Linked DNA regions of Homo sapiens: all the other regions are linked to region 1. Evidence: promoter capture Hi-C in 16 types of primary human blood cells and fetal thymus (Javierre and others, 2016). All regions are on one chromosome and are shown on one strand. The core of a region is centred on a gene start or on the middle of the fragment in contact, and the rest is flanking DNA. Distances in the headings are between cores, read along the strand shown. Region 1 holds the start of CSTF2 (cleavage stimulation factor subunit 2). Region 2 holds the start of GLA (galactosidase alpha). Region 3 overlaps BTK (Bruton tyrosine kinase). Region 4 has its middle 8.2 kb from the start of TIMM8A.

Region 1 (3,521 bases), core at 311-2,810:
GGCTAATTTTTGTATTTTTAGTAGAGACAAGGTTTCACCACATTGGTCAGGCTGGTCTCGAACTCCTGACCCCAGGTGATCCGCCTGCCTCGGCCTCCCAAAGTGCTGGGATTACAGGCTTGAGTCACTATGCCCTGCCTAAAAAACATTTTTAACGAAAAAAACATATTTTAGGTAAGAATAAATGTCAATTGTATAGTGTATCAATTATATCTCAATAAAGCTGTTACAAGAACAAAATGTATGTGAAAAGTCACCAGTAAAGAAAACCTGCCATTATTACTAAGAGCCAAATCTGTGGTGATTTTTAAGAAGCTCCCACCATGAAGGAAAAGGGGATCTCACCTGAAACTAACAACAGGTCCAACCTCAGAAAAGATGTCCTTCAACTGCTCTTCAGTAGCTTCATAAGGAATGTTCCCCACTAAGGAAGAAAATAGGTAACATTAAAATTCTGAGTTTATAACATAGATCTTTAGTGAGAAAGTAAACTTATATCATCAAATATAAGACTCAAAATAGTGTTCTCCAATCCCAATTCCATTGTATTTCTTCAGACCTCTTAACAAAGGAAATATACCACTGAAACTAAATACAAAATGTGTAGGTACTCTCAAATGTTAGTTCTCAGACTGATCTGACACGTGTTAGATTTTCCTTAACTTTGGTGCAAATAAATACTTTGGCACTGGTATTTACCTAAAGATCTGCAAGTCTCATCAGTGACTACAAAAAATATCAATGTTATTTAATATAATTTTTAAAACAGGTTCCTATGTATTTCCACACATACAACATTTAAGGGAGAATGACGATGAATGTAGTGAAAGATGTTTAAAAAGTATTCTGAACTACTTTGTCATGTCCCTTTCAAATGGTACTCTAAAATAATCACACGTATTTTTAAAAACAACTTATTTCAGCCAAAAAGATAATTCAGAATCGTTTCGATCCTTTTTAAAATTCCTCTGAGGAGATCTTAATAGTTCATTCATTCATTCACTTACAAGCCATCTCAGGACACCAGGTGGCCGCTACCACTATTGATGCACTAAAATGTTACAGATAAAAAGCAAAGGATGAAAGTCCTTAGGAGAGGACAGTAAGTGGACACTAGGATCTATACCCTCAGCATATAGTCTGTATTCTGGGGCAGAGGATGAGAAGTAGTACGGGACAGTGAGGAGCTGTTACCGTGAGCCTTCTCCTCTAGAGAATAATTGAAGCTCATGAAAGGAGAAACGCACAGAAGCTGAACGCTAGTCTAACTTCCCCACTGATATTGCGGAAAGCCTACGAGACCTCGGCAGAATGGGAATATCTCTTTGCTCATGAGTCCACCAGGTTGGACGCCCTACAGGATAAGCAGGGAGAACTGCACGTCCGAACCGTCAGCGGCTCCGGTAGCGATTCATGAGATAGAAGGTGCAGAGGGGAGTCCCTCCCCGAAGCTTGACTACAACGAATTCCTCTCACCGAACACAGAACGTAGAGAACGATCCACCGCTGGGTCTCTCACAGTCAAACCCGCCATAGCTCTGTTGAGTCGGCTTCCGGTGCGCCAAAGCACACTTCCGTACGGAGCACAAGCCCAGCGCTGAGCACGCTTCCGTACGGCGCGTGAGCCGGAAGGGCCTGGGCGGAACGGACGCAGAGCCCCTCCCCTGGAGACATTCTGTTAGCCGCAGGCGCGAGTTGCGTCCACCGGAGGGCTATATTCTCACTCCTGAGATTAACTCTGTTCCGAGCCAGATGCAGGCGAGTCCAGGCTAATTTGAAGGGTTTCAGCCTGCAGACTTCCTTCTTATTAATTTTCTCTTAGGTTGATGCAAGTACTCCTCAACCACAATAAAGGCGCAGCGGCTTTACCATGGTAACAGGGAAGTCCTTTGCTGACAACTGTGGGGCTTGCATTTTAGTTCCGCCCTATCAAGGGAGGGAAATGCTTGGGCCCGTCCCAGCAGCGTGCATATTATTTGCTAAACCTGTTCGTGTGTGGAGTGAGATGAGGAAAGGGCATGCCAGCCGAGAGAAGCATAGTTAAAGAAATGGGAGAGGTAAAGGGAGAACAGACCTCTGTCCTCGTGTAGTCCGTGGGTTCCATGTGCTTCGTGGTGGGGCGGTGCGGCAGGGGATTCTGGCAGGCAGAGTATCGGAAACAGAAAACGTCATTCATCGGTTTTTCCACACTTTGGTGCCCACGCGCCTGGGATATGGCATGCAGGGCAGGTCGTTGTATCATCCCGGAAAGGCAGACCCTGCCGGGGTTGGAGGAAATCCAGGGGGCACCTCAGGAGGACAGGGTTAGGGGATAAGCAAAGGAAGGAGCCAAGAGCGCTACCTTTGAGGGACTTGTCCGAAAAAGGAAGACGGTAAAATAGCCACGGAATTGGAGGCATGGACGTTTTTATTAATTCCACATGTATTAAAAGTATATGGGCCGGGCGCGGTGGCTCATGCCTGTAATGCCAACACTTTGGGAGGCCGAGGCGGGCGCATCACCTGAGGTCGGGAGTTGGAGACCAGCCTGGCCAACATGGAGAACCCCTTTTCTACTAAAAATACAAAATTAGCCGGGCGTGGTGGCGCATGCCTGTAATCCCAGCTGCTCAGGAGGCTGAGGCCAGAGAATCGCTTGAACCCGGGAGATGGATGTTGCGGTGATCCGAGATCTGCCATTGCGCTCCAGCCTGGGCAACAAGAGCGAAACTCCATCTCCAAAATAAAAGTATATGAAATATGATAAATATTTAGAAAAAATTAATAAGTGCTAGTTTACACCATGAAGCATATCACTTTAAGAAGTAATTCTGGTAAAGATGGAAAGTTTGAGAAGAGTATACCCATTTCCATGACTCTAGAGTCCCATTTGCAATCACTGTGTGACCAAGAGGACACCTTGTGTAATGGAATGGTCCAAAAGGAGATTTACAGCTCTGTAGAAGGCACAGTTTCAAAGAGTTTTGGTGTGTCATTGTTCCGTTGTGGTGAACTTTTGCTAAATGCATGTACGGCTGAGTATATTTCTAACTCAGTGTTTGGCAAACTTACATAAACAAAAGATTAACCTGGGGTCTTTGAGTAAGAGTATAGATTCCTGGGGCTCCACCCCAGCCCTATGGAATGGGACTCCAGGGAAAGAACTTGGGAATCGTTATATTTAAACAAGTGCCACTGGCGATTCTTAGGGTCAGGTAATTTGAGTAGCATTGTAGTTATTGAGGTAGCTTTATGGCAGCATTTAAGACACGCATGCTTTCTTATGAAATTTCCCTTAAAGTAGTTCTCAAAGTTCTCAACCCTTGTGGAGGAGCATTTTTGGAAATGTACAGTGGCATTTTCAGTTGTTGCAATGACTACTGCTAGGGGAAGAGAAGCCAGAGATGATAAATGGACTGCCATGTCCAAGGCAGTTCTACAGGATGAACCCCTCCCCCCACTGAATGCCAATAATGTCTCTCCCCTTGAGAAACACTTAATATCAGCCATATTAGACCAAATGGACCCTGGATCTGAATGCT
Region 2 (3,521 bases), core at 681-3,180, 590 kb before region 1:
AAAATCTATCTGCCTTGACCCAGAAAGATCTCCAAAATACATTAAATAAAAGAATATACATAGTATGATCCTACTTATAGTAAAAGATTGGCATGCATGTATATACGTATGTAAATAAATAAAAGATCTGGAAGCAAACTTGTTTTTGAGAGAACTGAAGGGTGGGGGGGTGAAGTGGGCTTTTCGCTTTTTACCCTATATACTTCTATACAGTTTTAATTCTTTACATTTGCTGTACTGGGATTTTTTCTTTTTAAGTTAGAAAGAACATATTAGTGGTTACTCTGAGTGGGAGGTTTATGGATTTTCCATGTTATTTTTCCAATTTTTTTATGCAGCCTTAAATTTCTACAGAAATAATTACTTTTACTTCAGCAAAAAAAGTAACATAAAACAAATTAAAATGTTTGCATTTCTGGGATTTGGTATAGGAAATTTTATAAAATTTTCTAATTTTGTATGTGGATGGTTTATCTGAAATGGTCTGGGAGCACTGGGCCTCTTGGAAACAAAGTACAAAGTGTAATAACGGCCATAAAACTACACTGAGGAAACGATTTAACAAACATTTACTGATTGCCGATTATGTGCCTAGCACACTGCATCTGCAGTGATAACAGTTTTCCTATTAACCATCCTAAGGTCTCAGTGACAGATTTACAAGCTGTTTTTTTATTTCATTTTGCAGGATTTTTTTTTTTTTTTTTGCTTGCCTTATCCCTGGGATAACCCGTCCCATTTAATTCCCTGCACCGCTCTATTCCTTAAGAGCCCTTCTGTAGGGGCAGAGAGGTTCTACTTCATTACTGCGTCTCCTGGGAAGGCCATCAGGACTGCTGGCTAAAGTGGGAACCAGGACTCTTTGTGAGTTAAGAATTTGTGTATTTATATGTGTGTTATACACATTTTTTAAAAAACTGTAACGACATCAGGTTGAGCAGTCGTCTCCGGGTGGTGAATTATGTGTATTTTTAAATTTTATACTATATTGTTATTTTTCAAATGTTCGAAATTGAATATGTAGATTGTTGTTATCAGCAGAAAAATAAACATTATTCAAATACTCTATTCAGTAAAGTAATTTATTGGGCGCCTTTGTCAAGCACGCATTTGCCTAGATGTGACTCTACAGATAAAATTCACTTGGGGCCTCCCCTTACAGACAATCAGGCAGTGGAGACTGAGTGCCTGAATGGATAGACCAGCACTCAGACCACTATTTTCAGTATCTGTTTTTCTTAACTCAGGGCCGTGGTTTTCAAACGTTTTTCGCCTTACGGTCACCCTTAGGGGTCCCCCGAGACCGGCCCAGACAGACAGATATACAAAAACACATACACAGTCATGAGCGTCCACCATTTCCCCACCAGGCGCAGCACAGGCGGCTTCCCGGCACTGAGATGGGGGGGAGGAGGGAGAGAGCGCGAGGGGGGAGGGGAAAGCAGAGAACGAAAGAGGCGGAGGCGGCCCCCGAACCCCGCTCTGGTCTTCATCATCACCACCCCTGGGTCCCCAGTTCCCACCCACACACCAACCTCTAACGATACCGGGTAATTTTCCTCCTTCTTCCCTCAAACGGCTATAGCGAGACGGTAGACGACGACCAGAACTACTTCTGCTCACGTAAGCGAGTAATCACGTGAGCGCCTACGTCATGTGAGATCTCGGTCACGTGAGCAACTCTCGGCTTAAACTCGGGATCACTAAGGTGCCGCACTTCCTTCTGGTATGGAAATAGGGCGGGTCAATATCAAGAAAGGAAGAGGGTGATTGGTTAGCGGAACGTCTTACGTGACTGATTATTGGTCTACCTCTGGGGATAACCGTCCCAGTTGCCAGAGAAACAATAACGTCATTATTTAATAAGTCATCGGTGATTGGTCCGCCCCTGAGGTTAATCTTAAAAGCCCAGGTTACCCGCGGAAATTTATGCTGTCCGGTCACCGTGACAATGCAGCTGAGGAACCCAGAACTACATCTGGGCTGCGCGCTTGCGCTTCGCTTCCTGGCCCTCGTTTCCTGGGACATCCCTGGGGCTAGAGCACTGGACAATGGATTGGCAAGGACGCCTACCATGGGCTGGCTGCACTGGGAGCGCTTCATGTGCAACCTTGACTGCCAGGAAGAGCCAGATTCCTGCATCAGGTATCAGATATTGGGTACTCCCTTCCCTTTGCTTTTCCATGTGTTTGGGTGTGTTTGGGGAACTGGAGAGTCTCAACGGGAACAGTTGAGCCCGAGGGAGAGCTCCCCCACCCGACTCTGCTGCTGCTTTTTTATCCCCAGCAAACTGTCCCGAATCAGGACTAGCCCTAAACTTTCTCTGTGTGACCTTTCCTGGGATGGGAGTCCGGCCAGCGGCCCCTGTTTCTTTCTCTCTCTCTCTCTCTCTCGTTCTCCTTCTCTTTCTCTTTCTCTTCTTTCCTCTCTCTTTCTCTCTCTCCCTGCCCGGTTCTCTTTTTTCACTGCTCCTTGCAGAGCAGGGCCACCCCATAGGCAGTGTGCCCAAAGTAGCCCTGCCCGGTTCTATTCAGACCCTTCTTGTGAACTTCTGCTCTTCCTCTGCCGGGTGCTAACCGTTAGAACATCTAGGGTGGGTAGGAGGAATGGGGAACTAAGATTCGTGCCATTTTTTCTCCTTTTGGGGTCGTGGATTTCTCGGCAGTATCTCGAGGGAGTTAGAGAGACCATAAGGTCGCTGAGATCTCTCCCACCTCGCCCATGAGCGTGGCATCAGGCTGGAAGGTTGACATGGAGGAACTTTATACATTTACACCTTTGCGTGAGGGTTGAGGCTGGATTAGATAGGTATTGAACATATCTGACCCTCACAATCCTTATCTGTAAATTGGGATTACAACCTTTTAATTTCAGGGAGCTGACAAAAAAAATCTGAAAAATAGTTCTTATCTCACACAGGTGAGTTTTCAAGGAGATAACCTATTTAAAGTACATAGCACAGCGCTTGACCATTCAACTGCGCTTACAGAGCAAATGTTCAATGGGAAAATGAATGTAAATCTACAAATCTGAATGAATATGTGTATTTTTCTGGAGAGAGGATATTTACCTTTCTTCAAATTCTCAAAGGGCTCTGTGATTTAAAAAAGGTTAGGAATCACTGATAGATGTTGGTAAAAGGTGGCAGTCACAGTACATTTCTGTGTCCATAAGTTATTCCTATGAATATCTTTATAGATAAAGTCAGGATGTTGGTCAGACATCACAGAAGAAATTGGCCTTGTAAGTTTCATGTGACCCTGTGGTACAGTATGTGTGGCAATTTTGCCCATCACGGATTTTTTTTTATTGGTATTTGCATCTGATTATAAAACTAATGCATGATCATTGCAAAAAATGTAGATAAAGAAGAGCAAAATGAAAATAAAGATTTCCCCCCACCGTTCCACCACCCAGAAATAATCATGGTTTAAATGTTAATATACAACCTTACAATTGTTTTCTATATAAATGAAAACATAGATTTCTTTATTTCATTATTTTCCATAAAAAATGGATCA
Region 3 (3,521 bases), core at 435-2,934, 550 kb before region 1:
GTGACTGAGAGATTAACTGGTTGAGTTGACATCAGGAAAGGCTGCCTAGAGAAACAGGAAGGATGGCAGACTGATAATGGTATGGTTGGGTTATTGCATGACAGCCCTTTGTCTTAATAAACATTTAGATTCTGATACTCACTGGCTGGCTATACCAGCCTTGTACACTCCCTTGAATGCAAGTTTGGTTGGTCAAAATTATATTAGCCAAGTCTTTCAAACTGAAAGGGAACAGGAGGAACGAAGATGAAGGATCATCTATTCAATTATTGCTATGTGCCAGATATTGAGCTAAATACCTTTTATATATTATCTCATTTAATTTTCACAACAACCTTGGCCTAAAAACAACAACAATGATAACTAACACTTAATGAGCACTTACTATGTAGCAGGCTCTGTCCCAAGTGCTTCAAATGTATTACTTATTTGATCTTTGCAGTAGCCTTAAGAAGTATGTATTATTCCCCTATTTACAGATGAGGAAACTGAAGCTCAAAGATGTTATGCAACTTGCTCATGGGCACACAGTGAATGGTGGAGCCTGGATTCTTATCACATCCCTGTGTCTGTATGACTCCAAAGCCCAAGCTCATTGCATAGTTTTGCGCTGCTTGGTTTCCAAGTCCAGAAATTTCACATGTAGTTGGTTGCAAAATATTCTATAGTAAAGCTATGTTGAATATTACAAATAGGTGATATCCTGCAATACACAGTTCAGTTCTTGGCATATTTTAAGATAAGGGGTCTGCTTTAGCCCTGGGGCTACAAAATGAGCAAACTCTTTAATACTGCTTATTGTGATACAGGCTCTTCTTTAAGTTCTTTACATATATTAACTTTGTATTAACCATATGAGGCAGTTATCTTGTCATCCCCATTTTACAGATAAGAAAGCTGAGGTACAGAGAGGTTAAGTAACTTGCCCAAAGGCCCTCGGTTGGTAAATGGCAGGGTCAGGCTTTGAATTCAGGCCCCAGACTCCATGTCCTGAACCAATATACTATCTCCAGCCACAGAAATATTTGCAGAGACTGGGATAAGAGCTCTGCAGGACATGTATACTTGTACTTCTTTAGTTCTCTCCACAATGCCTCATACAGCGCCTTGCACACAGAAAGGGATCAGTAGTTGTGTTAACTGATTTATCTGTGGGAATAAACAACCATCACCAGCTTGGGCTCCACATCGATAAATGGCTAGGTTTTAGTCTGGAAATGGGGGAATGCAAGGCAGACTAGCTGAAGGAGAAATAAGGGAGAAACTGGCATGCTCAAGTTGGTAACTTCTTTACACTTCATATACTAATTTCAAAACCAGTCATAGTTTAGTCCAACAAATATTTATTTATTTATTTATTTATTTATTTATTTATTTATTTATTTATTTTGAGATGGAGTTTCGCTCTTGTCACCCAGGCTGGAGTGCAATGGCACGATCTCGGCTCACTGCAACCTCCGCCTCCCGAGTTCAAGCGATTCTCCTACCTCAGCCTCCCGAGTAGTTGGGATGACAGGCGCCTGCCACCATGCCCAGCTAATTTTTGTATTTTTAGTAGCGACAGGGTTTCACCATGTTGGCCAGGCTCGTCTCAAACTCCTGACCTCAGGTGATCCACCCGCCTCTGCCTCCCAAACTGCTGGGATTAAAGCATGAGCCACCACACCTGGCCCAACAAATATTTATTGAATGTCCACTATATTTAAGGGTGAGTAATGACCGAAGATAAGGATATCCAGCTTGTGAGCTTGTGAGCTTTCTTTTTTTCTTTTTTTTTTTTCTTGATATGGAGTCTCACTCTGTTGCCCAGGCTGGAGTAGAGTGACGTGATGTTGGCTCACTGCAACCGCCGCCTCCTAGGTTCAAGCAATTCTCCTCCCTCAGCCTCCCGAGTAGCTGGGACTACAGGCGTGCACCATCATGCCCGGCTAATTTTTGTATCTTTGGTAGAGACAGGGTTTCATCATGTTGGCCAGGCTGGTCTTGAACTCCTGACCTCAGGTGATCCACCTGCCTCGGCCTCCCAATGTGCTGAGATTACAGGCGTAAGCCACTATGCCCAGCCGAGCTTGGTTTCCTAACTCAGATGTTAACCTTACAATCTTGATTATGTGCTGCTTTTAAGGTTCATTAGCTAAGTAAATTCACAACAGGCTAAAAATAAAGCCAAAATAAATAAACAGAAACACCATCACTTCAGCTGGGTCATCAGTGTGATCAGGGAGTGTGGCTAGGCACATCTTTGCCTTCTCTTCCCTTATGTTTCACCAAAGGCATTTTTTTTCCCAGTAGTTCCACCTGGGTATAGTCTTGTTGAACCGTCCTGGGCTAACAACAAGAGCCAAAAAGTAGGCACCTTCTGACAAATACCATGATTGCTGGGAGATTTAGGTGCAAGTCCTAACAATCCCAGGACAGTCCCAGGTGCTGCCAATGTCAATAGTGAGTTAGCCTAGGAGCCACAAAATAATGATATTATTCCACTCTTTTTGTTTTTTTCTTGTTTGTTTTTATGTTTTTATTATCCTACTCTTGGGTAAAATGCACCAATAAGAAATCATTGACATGAAAAGGGGACCTCATGAGAATACTGGTTACCTTTGCAGGGATATTGACTGAAGAGGCATGAGGTGCTGGATCTCAAGGAGGTTAAATGGGTGTGGAAAAATATGGTTTGCTGTACACATTAAATCTGTGCACTTTATTATATGTAAATTATACCTCAATTTTATTTATTTATTTTTTTTTATTTTGAGAGAGAGAGTCTTGCTCTATCGTGCAGGCTGGAGTGCAGTGGCACAATCTCGGCTCACTGCAAACTCTGCCTCCTGCGTTCAAGCGATTCTCCTGCCTCAGCCTCCCAAGTAGCTGGGATTACAGGCGCTCACCACCACGCCCAGCTAATTTTTGTATTTTTGGTAGAGACGGGATTTCACCATGTTAGCCAGGCTGGTCTCAAATGCCTGACCTCAAGTGATCTGCCCACCTCAGCCTCCCAAGGCGTGAGCCACTGCACCAGGCCTATACCTCAATTTTAAAAGCATAGCCTCAGATACCTCATATCCAGCTGCCACATTTTCTCAATGGTGCTTGCCATGCAAAGGTTGTATTCCTGTGGGCTTAGCCACAGACTCTCTCTTTCCATTTCCTTAAATATGGCAGTGGGCCCTTCTATGTTCCAGCACCACAAATATTTGCCTATACTTATTCTTGAATCTTTGGTCAAGCTCAATAGAACCTATCCTAATTGCAAATTCAAAAGTAGGCAAATGACCTGACCTCACCAAAATGAATAAGAGAATAGCATTGGCAAATCTCCTACAAACAGTATGGAAAGGAATGATTCATGTATGCCTGAAACAGAATTTTAGACATTAACCTCATAAATATGGATAGAAAAGACCAGCCCATCAAGTGCTTGGAGAATATGTACTAACCATTAGTGCTTCCCAATAGGGGAATGTGCATTGGTGAAGCAAGCAGTCTCCCCCAGCCCTCCCACTTGTACACCCTGCTTTTGC
Region 4 (3,521 bases), core at 574-3,073, 520 kb before region 1:
GCTCATCTTCAAGCTTCCAGGTTTTACCAAGCACACTCTGAAAGTGAGTCTATGTATTAGGGATAACAGAAGGAAATCAAGCAAAAACTTGCTCTTTATTTACAATAAACTCCATAAGGAATTTGAATTCTAAAGTTAACAAATCAATGAACTCCATGTAAAATAGTCTTTACATGGAATAATGGAAAACAATCGATGGTCCTTTTCTTAAAAACCAATTTTTCCCCATTGTAATACCTTTTTTTTTTTTTAAGATGAGATCTCGCTCTGTTTCCAAGGCTGGAGTGCAGTCATTTCCATGTAGTATGTACTTTTCCCGAGTACTGCCATGACTCACTTGCCATTTTCAAGGAATAGCAGCCCACTGACTCAACACCCTCACAGACACACCCAGGATCAATACTTTGTATCCTTCAATCCAATCAGGTTGACACTCATTATTAACCATCACAAACTTCTTTATAAATTGTTATGGAATGAGCTCCAATACATATTGTTAAAGTTAAAAAGCAAGATTAAAGACTACCATTTGTGTAAAAAGGGGGGGGGATTAAAATATATGTATGCATATTTGCTTGAATAAGCATTAATTAACTCTTGAAGGATATTGTTAATATTGATTGCCTCTGGGGAAAAGAACTGGGTGGTTGGGGAGTAGGGGTGGGAGACTTTTTGCCATTTATCTTTTCTTTATGCCTTTTGAGTTTTGAATCATGTGAATGAATTACCTATTCAGAAAAATACATATTATTTTAAAAAATAACAAAATTTCTCTCCATTTCAGCACTATAAACTCTGTACTAAAAAGTGGGGATGTGTGATAGAAACCACTTTTAGGAATAAAAAACTTATATTTCAACTACAGTACTTTCAGATATCCCCTAGTCTCAAATAGATTCTTTTTTCTTTTTTTAACTTTTGTAAATTATTTTATTTCTTCCATGATGATTTAAATGGACTTTTTTTCTTTTTTTTTTTTTGAGACGGAGTTTTGCTCTTGTTGCCCAGGCTGGAGTGCAATGGCGTGATCTTGGCTCACTGCAACCTCTGTCTCCCGGGTTCATGCGATTCTCCTGCCTCAGCCTCCCGAGTAACTGGGATTACAGGCATGAGCCACCATGCCTGGCCTGACTATCTTCAAACAAGTACAAATATTTCATAAATAATATCTGGCCATTTCTAGCCAATTGAGTAATTTGTTGCACAATAAGCCACCTCACATCTTTCAGCAAGAAATACATTAAATTTGAATAATAAAGACATTACACAATGAATTAGGACACTTTTAAAATTTGTTTTAATTTTTATTAGGGGGAGGGGACAGCACACTTCTACTTAATGAAGAGAAACATTTTTACAGTCCAGAGGTCTTTTATGTTTTTGCACCTATTATGCTTGAATTCATAGGGGATAGGTTCCAGCAGCCCAGACTCCTTTCCATTGGTTCTCACAAAGTACACTTCTCTGGGTGGAGCAGCCTGGCACTTGAGTTGAACCCAGGTACCTCTCTTTTTGGCTTCCTTTTTCTGATCATTTTCCCTCATGCGTTTCAGGAAGCTATCTTGGCTCTTAGAGTGCTTAATGTACTCAATCCGCACATTAATTCTCTTGGCAAGAATCTTGCCCTTAGCTTCTTTGTTTACAACAATGCCAACAGCATGCTGGTTAACAGTGTAGACACAGTTTTGCCATGGTAACACTTATGGGACATTCCTTTTTGAATAGTACACATTCCCTCGATGTCTCTATATGTGTGTGTATATATATATTTTTTCTCTATATATAGAATATATATATAAATAGATATAGAAATATATATAGTCCATAATGAACACATATTTTTCTCTCTATATATATAGAAAAGATATATATATATATATATATATTTTTTTTTTTTGAGACAGAGTCTCACTCTGTTGTCCAGGCTGGAGTGCAGTAGTGAGATCTCGGCTCACTGCAAATTCCACCTCCCAGGTTCCAGTGATTCTCCTGCCTCAGCCTCCTGAGTAGCTGGGACTACAGGCACGCACCACCACGCCCGGCTAATAATATCGTCTTTCTTATAGATTTGTGTGTACATGGCCAAAGGAACAACTCTGTGTTTTCTTTTTTTTTGAGACAGAGTCTTGCTCTGTTGCCCAGGCTGGAGTGCAGTGGCGTGATCTTGGCTCACTACAACCTCTACCTCCTGGGTTCAAGTGATTCTCCTGCCTCAGCCTCCCGAGTAGTTGGGATTACAGGCATCTGCCACCACGCCCAGCTAATTTTTGCATTTTTAGTAGAGATGGGGTTTTGCCATGTTGGCCAGGCTGGTCTCGAACTCCTGACCTCAAGTGATCCTCCCACCTCAGCCATTTTCTGAAAGGCCTAGAGAACATCTATCTGGTGCCTCGCCTCTTACCCTTTGTGTTCGTCATTTTGGCAAATTACTGAAAGATGGCAGTTCCGGCCAAAAGGAAGCTCTTTTTTAAAAAAAGAATTATACTTCCCACACAACACTGGCATATCAAATAGGTTATTTACATCTAAGGACCTCTAGCAGGGCTGGGAATAGGGTAGGGTGAATGAGGCACTTGTTTCATGTGCAAAATTTAAGGGGGTACCAAAAAATTCAGTTATCAAGAGGAATAATTTTTTGTTTGTTTGGTTTTTTTTTTGTTTTGTTTGTTTTTTGAGACGCAGTCTCGCTCTGTCGCCTAGGCTGGGATGCAGTGGCACGTTCTCAGCTCACTGCAAGCTCTGCCTCCCGGGTTCACGCCATTCTCCTGCCTCAGCCTCCCGAGTAGCTGGGACTACAGGCACCCACCACCATGCCTGGCTAATTTTTTTGTATTTTTTAGTAGAGACGGGGTTTCACCGTGTTGGCCAGGATGGTCTCAATCTCCTGACCTCGTGATCCGCCCACCTCGTCCTCCCAAAGTGCTGGAATTACAGGCGTGAGTCACCACGCCTGGCCTGAGGAAAGATGTTTTAATGAAATATTTTAAAAATCAAATTAATGCAAAAGTCCATAATGAACAAAATATCAATATTTTTAATAAAGACAGGACCAGTAACAGTGCCATACTGAACCAACCATATCGGAGCCTGAGGCAAAAGGCAAAATACAAGTTCCATATACAGGCTTTTATGTATTCTTGAATAGTTAACTTTTTCCCGGAACATTACAGGAGTTGAAAAAATATTGAAAAATAGATAAATTATAACTCACAGCAATTAAGTTTAAAACATGTTATTTACACCAAAACTAGAATTTATTAAATTCTACTTTCTTGGCTTTAGTGGAAGCAAACCTATTGAAATTTTTTTTTTCTTTTTCTTGAGATGGAGTCTTGCTCAGTTGCCCGGGCTGGAGTGCAGTGGTGTGATCTCGGCTCACTGCAACCTCCGCCTCCCTGGTTCATGCCATTCTCCTGCCTCAGCCTCCCGAGTTGCTGGGACTACAGGCGCGTGCCACCACACCTAGCTAATTTTTTTATTTTTTAGTAGAGATGGGGTTTCACCATATTGGCCAGGCTGGT

The links. The method cuts DNA at HindIII sites, captures the fragments that hold promoters and counts their contacts. A CHiCAGO score of 5 or more calls a contact.
Region 2: the fragment with the promoter of GLA here is called in contact with the fragment with the promoter of CSTF2 in region 1 in 2 of 17 cell types (non-activated CD4 T cells and total CD8 T cells); the score reaches 7.9 in non-activated CD4 T cells.
Region 3: a contact is called between a fragment that was not itself captured here and the fragment with the promoter of CSTF2 in region 1, in 1 of 17 cell types (total B cells). The highest score is 6.8, in total B cells.
Region 4: a contact is called between a fragment that was not itself captured here and the fragment with the promoter of CSTF2 in region 1, in 1 of 17 cell types (naive CD4 T cells). The highest score is 5.5, in naive CD4 T cells.

What each region holds. Positions count from the first base shown.
Region 1 is chrX:100,818,430-100,821,950 of GRCh38, reverse strand. CSTF2 (cleavage stimulation factor subunit 2) reads right to left here and starts at 1,560. Exons shown (of 14, transcript NM_001325.3): 1 at 1,477-1,560; 2 at 346-424. The coding sequence starts at 1,534. RefSeq lists enhancers at 1,329-1,488, 1,769-1,818, 1,829-1,888. The HindIII fragment of the contact is 13,366 bases long and covers 1,454-3,521 here.
Region 2 is chrX:101,406,334-101,409,854 of GRCh38, reverse strand. GLA (galactosidase alpha) reads left to right here and starts at 1,930. Exons shown (of 7, transcript NM_000169.3): 1 at 1,930-2,145. The coding sequence starts at 1,952. All of the region lies in intron 3 of RPL36A-HNRNPH2 (RPL36A-HNRNPH2 readthrough), which reads right to left. It overlaps HNRNPH2 (heterogeneous nuclear ribonucleoprotein H2), which reads right to left and starts at 1,633. Exons shown (of 2, transcript NM_019597.5): 1 at 1,536-1,633. The HindIII fragment of the contact is 11,084 bases long and covers 1-3,521 here.
Region 3 is chrX:101,365,506-101,369,026 of GRCh38, reverse strand. The region is part of intron 5 of BTK (Bruton tyrosine kinase); the gene reads left to right. Among named protein-coding and RNA genes, the nearest start is that of TIMM8A, 19 kb to the right of the region's middle. The HindIII fragment of the contact is 4,043 bases long and covers 1-3,521 here.
Region 4 is chrX:101,338,813-101,342,333 of GRCh38, reverse strand. It overlaps the pseudogene RPL21P132. Among named protein-coding and RNA genes, the nearest start is that of TIMM8A, 8.2 kb to the left of the region's middle. The HindIII fragment of the contact is 3,616 bases long and covers 16-3,521 here.